Linked DNA regions of Homo sapiens: regions 1 and 3 are each linked to region 2. The links are contacts of gene promoters, found by promoter capture Hi-C in blood cells and fetal thymus (Javierre and others, 2016). All regions are on one chromosome and are shown on one strand. Each heading gives the region's core, a stretch centred on a gene start or on the middle of the fragment in contact. The rest is flanking DNA. Distances are from core to core; before and after follow the strand shown. Region 1 overlaps USP46-DT (USP46 divergent transcript). Region 2 holds the start of CHIC2 (cysteine rich hydrophobic domain 2). Region 3 overlaps SCFD2 (sec1 family domain containing 2).

Region 1 (3,083 bases), core at 213-2,712, 1.4 Mb after region 2:
TGGTGAGCAGTGTCCCAAGGCTGTGCAAGGTACCATGGCCCTGGGCCCAGTCCATGAATCTATTCTCTCCTCCTAAGCTTCTGGGCCTGTGATGGGAGAAGCCACTCTGAAGTTCTTTGAAATGCTTTCAAGGCTTTTTCCCTATTGTCTTGGATAGTAGCACTTGGCTCCCCTTTAATCCTGCAAACATCTCTAGCAAGTAATTGTTCCACAGTCTGCTTGAATTCCTCTACTGAAAAAGCTTTTTTCTTTCTCTGCCACATGGCCAGGCTGCAAATTTTCCAAACTTTTTTTGCTCTGCTTCCCTTTTAAATATAAGTTCTACCTTTTGTCTTTGCTCCCACATCTGAATATAAGTGGCTAGAAGCAGCCACACCACTTCTTGATCACTTTGCTGCTTAGACATTTCTTCTGCCAGATACCCTAAATCATCACTCTCAAGTTCAAACTTCCACAGATTCCTAGGGCATGAACAGAAGGCAGCTAAGCTCTTTGCTAAGGCGTTAACATTGTGTGACCTTTGCTCTAGTTCCCAGTAAGTTCCTAATTTCCATCTGAGGCCTCAGCAGCCTGGACTTCACTGTTCACATCACTATCAGCATTTTGGTTTGAAGTCCAGGCTTCTGAGGTCTCGAATGGAAATAAGGAAATTATTGGGAACTAGAGCAAAGGTCACGCATGTTTTGCCTTAGCAAAGTGCTTGGGTGCATTCTGTTCATGTCCTAGCTATCAGCATTTTGGTCACAACCATTTAACCAGTCCCTAAGAAATTCCAAACTTTCCCTCATCTTTCTGTCTTCTTCTGAGCCCTACAAACTCTTCCAACTTCTGCCTGTCACCAAGTTCCAAAGCTGCTTCCACATTTTCAGGTATCTCTACAGCAATGACTCACTTCTCAGTACCAGTTTTCTGTATTAGGTCATTCTTGCATTGCTATAAAGAAATCCCCAAGACCAGGTAATTTATAAAGCGAAGAGGTTCATGGTACTACAGGCTATACAGGAAGTATGGCACCAACATCTACTTCTGAGGAGTCCTAATGAAGCTTCTAATCATGGCTGAAGGCAAAGGGGGAACAAACATTCATATGGCAGAGTAGGAGCAAGAGAGAGTTGGCGGGGGCGGGGGGGGGGGGAGGTGCCACACCCTTTTAAATGACTAGATCTCGGGAGAACTCACTCATTATTGTTAAGACAGCACCAAGCCATGAGGGATCCTTCCTCATGTTGCAAACACCTTCCACCAGGCTCTGCCTTCTAGCTCTGCCTCCAGAATTGGGGATTCCAATTTAACATGAGATTTGGATGGGGACAGATATCCAAACTATATCAGCCGTGTAGTGCCACCCTCTAACCCATCCTTCCATTTTCTTGCTTTTCCCAGTCCTAACTATACCTGCATATCAGCTTACCTCAAAGTTCTCTCATTAGCTTGTCAATATTTTTAAGATTTTACCTCTTATCATCCCTGAATAATGTTTCCTCAATGAGTGAAGCTAAGATTATGATTATTCTTCTTCAACCCAAGAATTTTCCAATTTAGACCTGTGAATACCACACTTGTGGAAATGTAAAATGTATTTAATCTTTCATAAGTCTGACAAGCTCTGCCATGTTCAACTGATTTGTTGTGTATGTAATTCACTGCCTGAGTTTCAATCTGGATGTCTATATTGAACACTTCAGTTTTAGGATATATACCATTAAAAGGTATGCAAAAGATCCTTTTAACTTGCTGATATAGCACTCAGTAATCAGATGCTGTTCAATTTCCATTATGTCGATGGTGTTTTCAATCCTGTGAACTTTGCAATCCATGCGCCAATGTTGGCAGAAATACTGAACTCTTATTACAAAATTTTCATATCATTTAAAGCTTTAGATTATTGCCTTTATAGTGGAACTTCTGTGAAATTGAGTCCTGAGATCTGAGTTTTAGCCTTGAGGTTGCTCCTGACCTTGAGACATTAATACTCAAATCTTAAAGTTTTCTGGGCCTCCGTGCTGGGATTGGTCATAGTTCAGTTGTTTCCTGTCTTCTCTCTTCTCTTCCTCTCCCAGAGTGCTCAGCCCAGGTTACCACACCAACTTAATCTGTAACATTTCGGTAAGTCATCTGGGCAGGATCCTTGATCCTCTAAGCCTTATGTGACTGATCTGCAAAAAAGGAGATAATAGCATGTACCAGCTGATAGTTATGGTGGCGATTAAAGGAGATCAGGAATGTAAACATTGGGTGCAGTGGTTCACGCCTGTTGTCCCAGCGCTTTGGGAGGCCAAGGTGGGATGATTGCTGGAGCCCAGGAGTTTGGGATGACTCGGGGCTGCCCAGCCTCAGGCTGGGCAACATAGCGAGAACCTGTCTCTTAAAAAACAGAGAGAGAGAGAAGAAAATCAGTCATGACTTACAATGGAAGAAATTATCATCAGGATGTATTTGGAAATAATATTTAGGTTGAAAGACTTAAGCAGGAATATTATTTCTCATGTCCACTGGAAAACACAGTGACATGACTCCCAAAACCTTCAGTCAACAAGTCTGTCTTACTGTTTCCTCCCCAGATTCTAGGGATATTAGCAATCAACGGCTCTCAAATCTTTACTCTTGGTTAGATAAAAGCTATCTTCAACTAATTTTTCTTCTGATTCAATTTGTCATTAAATACACTGATCTAAGAATTTATCACGCATCTCACTTGTACAATTTCTCCTTTGAAAGCATCGAATTGCAACCTTGTATGTGTAACTGTTCCACACATTCAGAAACGGGCCCCTTCAATTCGCGTGGACCTATCTGCTAAGTGGTGCACAGACTCGCGCTCTGAGCCCGCAGCCACGACCTTTAATGCGGGAAATGTGCATGATCCCATACAGCGCCCATCTCAACAACTAGAGGCTGGGTGCACCCGAGAGGGGTATGCCTGCCTTGAAGATATGGAAAAGTTTTGTTTTCGTTCTTTCCACTCCTTGGACAGTCCCTAGTGCTTGCGCGGAACCGGGACGTCTCCTTTGGACCCGCTAATGTCACAAGCCGCCCGAGCGCGCCGCTGCTGGCCTCCGCCCAGACCCGGATTCCTCCCCCTT
Region 2 (3,285 bases), core at 635-3,134:
AAATAAATACACCCTCTTTGCTTACCTCACAGGTTCTTGGGGGAATATTAAATGATATATTATGTACGTGCTTTATAAGCAGTAAAATATTACATAATGCTGTGGTAACCCTCACAGGGTTGATAAGCTAGGGAGCCTTAAGCATCACCTATTACCCCGTATTTATTGTGTACTGGGCCTTCTTCTAGGCACTTCACCGATCTTAAGCCCTTGAATCTGCTGAGCATCCCAATGGGGCAGGTACTGAACAGGGAAGTTAAGTGGCTTGTCTAGGGTCACACAGTAAGTGGCAGAGCTGACATTCAAGGCCAGGTAGTCAGGTTCCAGAACACACATTGTTAAACACCAGACCAAGCTGCCTCCTGTGTGCCCCACTGACACTTCCTGTGTCCTCCTCCATGAGCCCCTGGCAGAGATGACAATTGCTTGCCTTAACAATAGATAAGCTACCAGAAGTCAGGGCCTGTGCCTCATTCACACACGTCCACAGTGCCTGCCACATAGCTAGAGTTCAGTAGATATTTGTTGAATGAACAAATACCCTCCAGGGAGGGATACAATAAGTCTGATACAACTACTGTATTTTTCCTTCATTTTTTCTTGGCTAACCACACTCATTTCCTTCAGTTGTTTCCAAAAGGAGGTTGGCATCTCTCACTGTCCTCATTGACCTCCTTTGCACTTTCTCCACGTCAACAGTGACCCATCTAAAGCCGACTACTGTGACATGAACACTGCACTTGAAGAGCCTGACCAGCGCTGGGCTCAGTAGAACTATCCTTTCTTCTCCCATGGTGTATCCTCACTGTCCAGGACTCTCTTCTCAGAAGCCCACTCCTTCCCCTGTGCTGTTTATATGCTTAATGAAACCAAGTACCCAAAGTGACCGTTCAACTGTTACTAGGCAGCTAAGTAGACTCCATTAAACCTTTTCCTTCCTTCCTCCCCTTCTTTCTTTCTCTCCCATTCTTCTTTCATTCTTCTCGTCCTTCCTTCTATCCTTTCTTCCTTCCTGCCTCCTTTTCTTCCTCTCCTCTGCCCTTTCTTTCAGGTCTTTTTTGTGGTAGGAACTGGTAAGAAAAGGAAAGGAATTCCCTAAGATTTTAAGGAAACAACAACAAAAACCAGGTTATGTTTGGTGAGAGAGTTGGGGCAAGAAACTGCATCTTCTAATATGGAATCCAGGTAATTTATCAGTTTTTTTTCATAGCATGACTACGGTGAGATTTCTTGTAAGAAAAAAAAAAAAATACCAGCATCGCTGGCCTCATATATTGGATTATACTTAAGGGGATCAAGGGATAAGATGTTTGAATTTGGAGATGTCTTGAAAAATCCTGTGGTGAGCACAAATGTTTGCAGTGTCTCTGCTGGACTCCTCAAATTGGGAAAAAAGAGACTCTGGTTCTCATCATAGACTCAAAACCTGAGGAAAAGCGAGATGCGATTATTAGATAAACTGGCAATGACACGCACAAAAATGTGTCTATTCCAGCCAGGGCTTTTCTTTTCAGTTGTTTGTTTTGGTTAGAGATGACTTTGGGGAACTGCATGTCCCACTGGACATTCCAAGCTGCGTTGTCGGAGTCGCGGGTCGCGGCCTCCAGTCAGCGGAGCCGCCGCCCCCAGGGTCCGCCACCCAGAAGTCGGCGGAGGGGGGCCCGCCGGCGGGAGCGCGCGCCCCGGTCGCCGTCTGCGGGTAGAAGCAGAGGAAAGACGGTGGCCTGGGAGCGCGCGAGGCCGCACGTGCGCGCGCCCGCCCGCCCGCCAGCCAGTCCGCTCGCCCACGCGCCCACGCACGCGCCCGCCCGCCCGTTGGCCCGGGAAGTCTCGCGATGCCGTAGCCGGCTGCTCCCGCTGCGGGTGGCTCGGGCTGTTGCTGTGGTTTCCTGAGTTGCTGCTGCTGCGGCGGCGGCAGCGGCGTCTGTGCTTGTGGAGGTGTCGGCCTCTGGGCGGATGTTGACATTGTGTTGTTGTTATTGCTGATGGTAATGGCGGCGGCGGTGGCGGCGACGGTCCAGACCCCATCCCCTCTGTAGCCGGAGCCGAGACAGCCGACAGCGAACTCCGCGGCCTCGGAGCCGGCGGCAGCGGCGACTCCCCTCAGCCTCCGCCGCCTCGCCCGCCGGTACCCCGGCGCCAACCCCGGGAGTCAGGCCCTTTGGGCAGGGGAGCTCGGAGGCTCAGGATGGCGGATTTCGACGAAATCTATGAGGAAGAGGAGGACGAGGAGCGGGCCCTGGAGGAGCAGCTGCTCAAGTACTCGCCGGACCCGGTGGTCGTCCGCGGCTCCGGTCACGTCACCGTGTAAGGCCCGGAGGAGGGCGAGGGCGGGAGGTGCGGGCTGGGGTGGGCCCCGTTACTCCACGGGAGCCCCGTTTCCCCTGTGTCCGTCTGGTGTCGGGGGCCTTCCGAAAGAGTAGGCAACCAGGAAGTGAGAACTTGGCTTATTTTCATTTGTTTGGGTCTCCGAAGTGGGGACGGACGCTGTCCTTCCTCCTCCACACACCCCTTTAGCAGGCCCTACAGGCCCGGGCGATGTGACGATCCCAGTAGGCACGGGTTTTCATTAGGGTCTGCCCTGCGGGCCACCCTTCCTCTTCAGGGTGGAAGTACGTGTATTGACAGGGAGCCTCCTTGTTTTCTCGCCCAGTTACCCTGTGGTTGTCTGTGCCTTTGCACCCAGTGACATGGCTCAGAGGCCAGATCTGGGCCGTGTGAGACCCCAGTGACAATTGGCAGCGAAGCTCCGTTTCGTGTCTATTTCACACATACCCACAGGTCTCCCAGTTTTTCCACTAATTTCCGCAGAACTAATGCAAGTTCTTGTAATTGTACGTGATAAAAATATATAGTTGAACACAAATTTAAGATATACAGAAAGAAATATGTTTACAACAACAACAACAACAACTACGTGAGGGACATACACTCTGCTCAGGTTACTGAGGGAAAATTGTAGTCCTGAAGCTCCTCCTTGGGGCACGAACTTGGGGCTTGTTAATTTGGAAAGTCCCACTAGTAACATTAAAAGTCTGATATTAATAAGGAATGAAAGCTTTCGGAAAGACCATGACAAAGGAATGTGAAGCCTTGAACCAAATAATGAGCTGTCCGGAAGCAGGAAGTTTTGTAATGTTTCACTATGAAGTCCACAGTTTTGTACCACTTGATGTATTACATTGATACTCTCTCATTTTAGATCTCTTGTTCAAATAATAGATCAGACTTCCATACTTGTCAGGTATCTCTGTACTTCTTCACCTTTTCAGTGAAACAAAAGAG
Region 3 (3,218 bases), core at 32-2,531, 1.1 Mb after region 2:
AAACCTCACAAACTTCTCCTTATGAAAAAGTGGAAGTGGTTGAGGGTGCAGAATTGGCCAGAACTTGGGGCTCTTGTTCTTTGCTGAGCAGGGTCAAATGCCTGACCTCCGGGAGGCAAGCCAGGGGCTTTCCTATCAGCAGAGATCAGCAGTGGTGGGTTACTGCTGTTTACTCTCCTTGCAACTTTATGGAAAAGTACAGAATTAGCAGCTCTCTCCAACATCTATTACCTTGGTCTCATGGACTTGGGGAGTGGAGTCATGACCAAAGTTAAGAGTAGAAATCCTGGCCGGGCACAGTGGCTCACACCTGTAATCCCAACACTTTGAGGGGGCCAAAGACGAGTGGATCACTTGAGGTCAGGAGTTCGAGACCAGCCTGGCTAACATAGTGAAACCCCGTCTCTACTAAAAATACAAAAATTATCCGGATGTGGTGGCACATGCCTGTAGTCCCAGCTACTGGGGAGGCTGAGGCAGGAGAATTACTAAACCCAGGAGGCAGAGGTGGAAGTGAGCCAAGATCACGCCACTGGTGTCACTTCAGCCTGAGCGACAGAGCGAGACTCTGTCTTAAAATAAAGAATAGAAATTTCTGTCTGTCCTGAGAGCAGTGAGGTTTCATGGGTGCTGGGGGAATGGATACTTTACCCCTAAAAATACCCCCAACCATAAGCAGTTTCCCTGACTGTCTTCCTTACTTCCAGTGGTGCACCATCTGTCTTCAGGGTGTCAGGGTGGGGATTCACCACAGGAAGTTTCTAGAATGCCTCCGACCGTATTTGCAAGTGTTGAACCCTCTCACCACCTAACCTCCATTGGCCCATCTGTCCCCAGCCACACTTGGCACATAATCAATGCTTTCAAATTCTAACTCTACCACTTACTACTTAGCTGTGTGACCTTGGGCAAGCTACTTAACATCTACGTGCCTTAGTTCCTTCCTCTGTCAAAAGGAATCATAATAGTACCTATCTTGTAGGGTCATTGTAGGAATTAAATGTAGTAAATGCCGGGCATGTGTAAGGGCTATCTGAATGTTAGCTATGGGACTTATTCTGATTACAATGGCAGTGGGTGTCTGGCCAGCCACCAGATCACCTTTATGCAAGATAATTACCTTTCTATTTCTCTGGTAAGCAGACATGGGTAATTGAAGTTGACCTACCATGTCCTCCGTGTGGCCCACATTTACGTTCCTTTCCATGCTCTCCAATCTTCTGGTTTTCCTGTAGCTGAGATACCCACTGGATTGGGCAGCTCTAGACTACAGCTATTCTGAATCAGGCCTCAGAGGTCTCCATCACTGACCACATATCGTGTGCATGTTCTTATTCAGTTTCCTTTTGTGGCTAAGGAATGGACACCTAAGTACTGCTTCTTTTTATAGAAGGCTCTGACTAGCATATTTGCTGATTAAAAGGAAGGCCTCACAGAGCATTCATTTTGAAGAGCATAGTAATACTTAAGAACCAGGACTATTTCAGACATTTATTGCAAACTGTTTATTTCCTAAAATAAGGAGGGCATGCTTTTTGTTTACATCCTCCTAATGAGAATTCCTCAGGGGTTTGAAAACTGTTATTGTGCCCTTTTCGTCTTCCCCTACATTTCAGCCTACCCATCCAAGAAGCATCTGACCAGTGCTATCATGAAGGTTGTGATTTAACTTTGAAAGGAATCCTTTTCTACTGTCCTCCTTAGAGTTGTAGCAAGCTGCCTTCATTGACCAAATGTACATCATAACTTATCATAGTTCAAATCCTATCACCTGTTTCTGTCTCCTCTGGGAGATATTCCTTGACCCCATCCCATTAAGTTCTTCTCCCTCTGTGCAATTTCTGTACAGGGACACAACTTTATTGTTGTCCTTATCACTCTACTCTAACATTTAATGACAGTTTAATACTGCTTTCTATGTGCCAGGCACAGTGGTAGATTCTAAAAATCTAACTGCAAATAAAACTTGAAGACAGTGGTATCTCGTAGAACATTCTGTGAGGATGGAAATGTCCTATATCTGCATTACCCAGTATGATAGCTGCTACCCATAGATGGCTATTGAGCACTTGAAATGTGGCTAGTGCAACAGAGGAACCAAATGTGTAATTTTATTACTTCATATGTACATGTAAATAGCTACATGTGGCTACTGATTACTGTATTGAACAGCACAGCTCTAAAACGTAAGTCTGATGAGGACAGAGATCCGTGTCTTTTGTTTATCACTCTACTCCCAGGGCCAAGAACAGTGCCTGCCATATGGCATGAATGAAAGAAAGAAAAGAAGGACGAAAGGAAGGGAGAGAGGGAAAAGAGAGAGATGGGTGATCTGGTTTGGATCTGTGTCCCCACCCAAACCTCATGTTGAATTGTAATCCCGTGTTGGTGGTGGGGCCCAATGGGAGGGGACTGGATCATGGGGGCAGAGTTCTTGTGAATGGGTTAGCACCATCCCCTCAGTGCTGTTCTGCTGATAGTGAGCGAGTGAATTGTCATGAGATCTGGTTATTTAAAAGTGTGTAGCACCTCCCACCTCTCTCTCTTCTTCCTACTCCCACCATGTAAGATATCTGCTCCCGTTTTGCCTTCCGCCATGAGTAAAAGCTCCCTGAGGTCTCCCTAGAAGCAGATTCCACCATGCTTCCTGTACAGCCTGTGGAACCATGAGCCAATTAAACCTCTTTTCCTTATAAATTGTCCAGGCTCAGATATTCCTTTATAGCAGTGTGAGAACAGACTGGTACAACAGGTCTCTGACCTTGTAGAGCTTAAATGTAGTAGAGACCCATTTGTTTATATATTTGCTTATAGATCTTTAAGTTCCAGAAGACAGGGATTGTCTTTTCTTTGCCCATATCCTTATACCCATTGCCTAAAACTGTATCAAGGCTCATAGGAGGGGCTCAAGAAATGTTAGTTGAGTTGAAACCAATGCTGAATAAATGCAAGATTGGTAGTGGTGGGGATAGTAATCCTAGTAGTGGTTGTTGTTAATAGGAAGAAAACTTACCCTTCCCCAGTGATATTAAGCAAGGCTGCTGTTGTTCATAGTAGGAAGAAAGATACCCCACCCAGTGCTGTATATCAGACAAGCAATGTTGGTGCCGTCTGGTGGTGGTATCCTCTCCAGGCCTTCTAAGTCTATCAAGCAAATCTGCCTTCTCTGACATATCCTCACCTCTTGCTCCCTGTTTGGCTTGGAAATCCAGCTACTT

Evidence for each region. Contacts are between HindIII fragments. The CHiCAGO score rates a contact against its expected background, and 5 or more counts as called.
Region 1: a contact is called between a fragment that was not itself captured here and the fragment with the promoter of CHIC2 in region 2, in 1 of 17 cell types (naive CD8 T cells). The highest score is 5.3, in naive CD8 T cells.
Region 3: a contact is called between a fragment that was not itself captured here and the fragment with the promoter of CHIC2 in region 2, in 1 of 17 cell types (fetal thymus). The highest score is 5.0, in fetal thymus.

The regions. Positions count from the first base shown.
Region 1 is chr4:52,659,965-52,663,047 of GRCh38, reverse strand. It overlaps USP46-DT (USP46 divergent transcript), which reads right to left. Exons shown (of 2, transcript NR_125363.1): 2 at 1,550-2,156. Among named protein-coding and RNA genes, the nearest start is that of USP46-DT, 2.1 kb to the right of the region's middle. The HindIII fragment of the contact is 830 bases long and covers 1,048-1,877 here.
Region 2 is chr4:54,063,204-54,066,488 of GRCh38, reverse strand. CHIC2 (cysteine rich hydrophobic domain 2) reads left to right here and starts at 1,884. Exons shown (of 6, transcript NM_012110.4): 1 at 1,884-2,307. The coding sequence starts at 2,189. RefSeq lists silencers at 1,577-1,816, 2,047-2,176 and an enhancer at 1,976-2,476. The HindIII fragment of the contact is 3,181 bases long and covers 1-3,060 here.
Region 3 is chr4:53,002,270-53,005,487 of GRCh38, reverse strand. All of the region lies in intron 5 of SCFD2 (sec1 family domain containing 2), which reads left to right. Among named protein-coding and RNA genes, the nearest start is that of SCFD2-AS1, 77 kb to the right of the region's middle. RefSeq lists a silencer at 1,296-1,385. The HindIII fragment of the contact is 4,903 bases long and covers 1-3,218 here.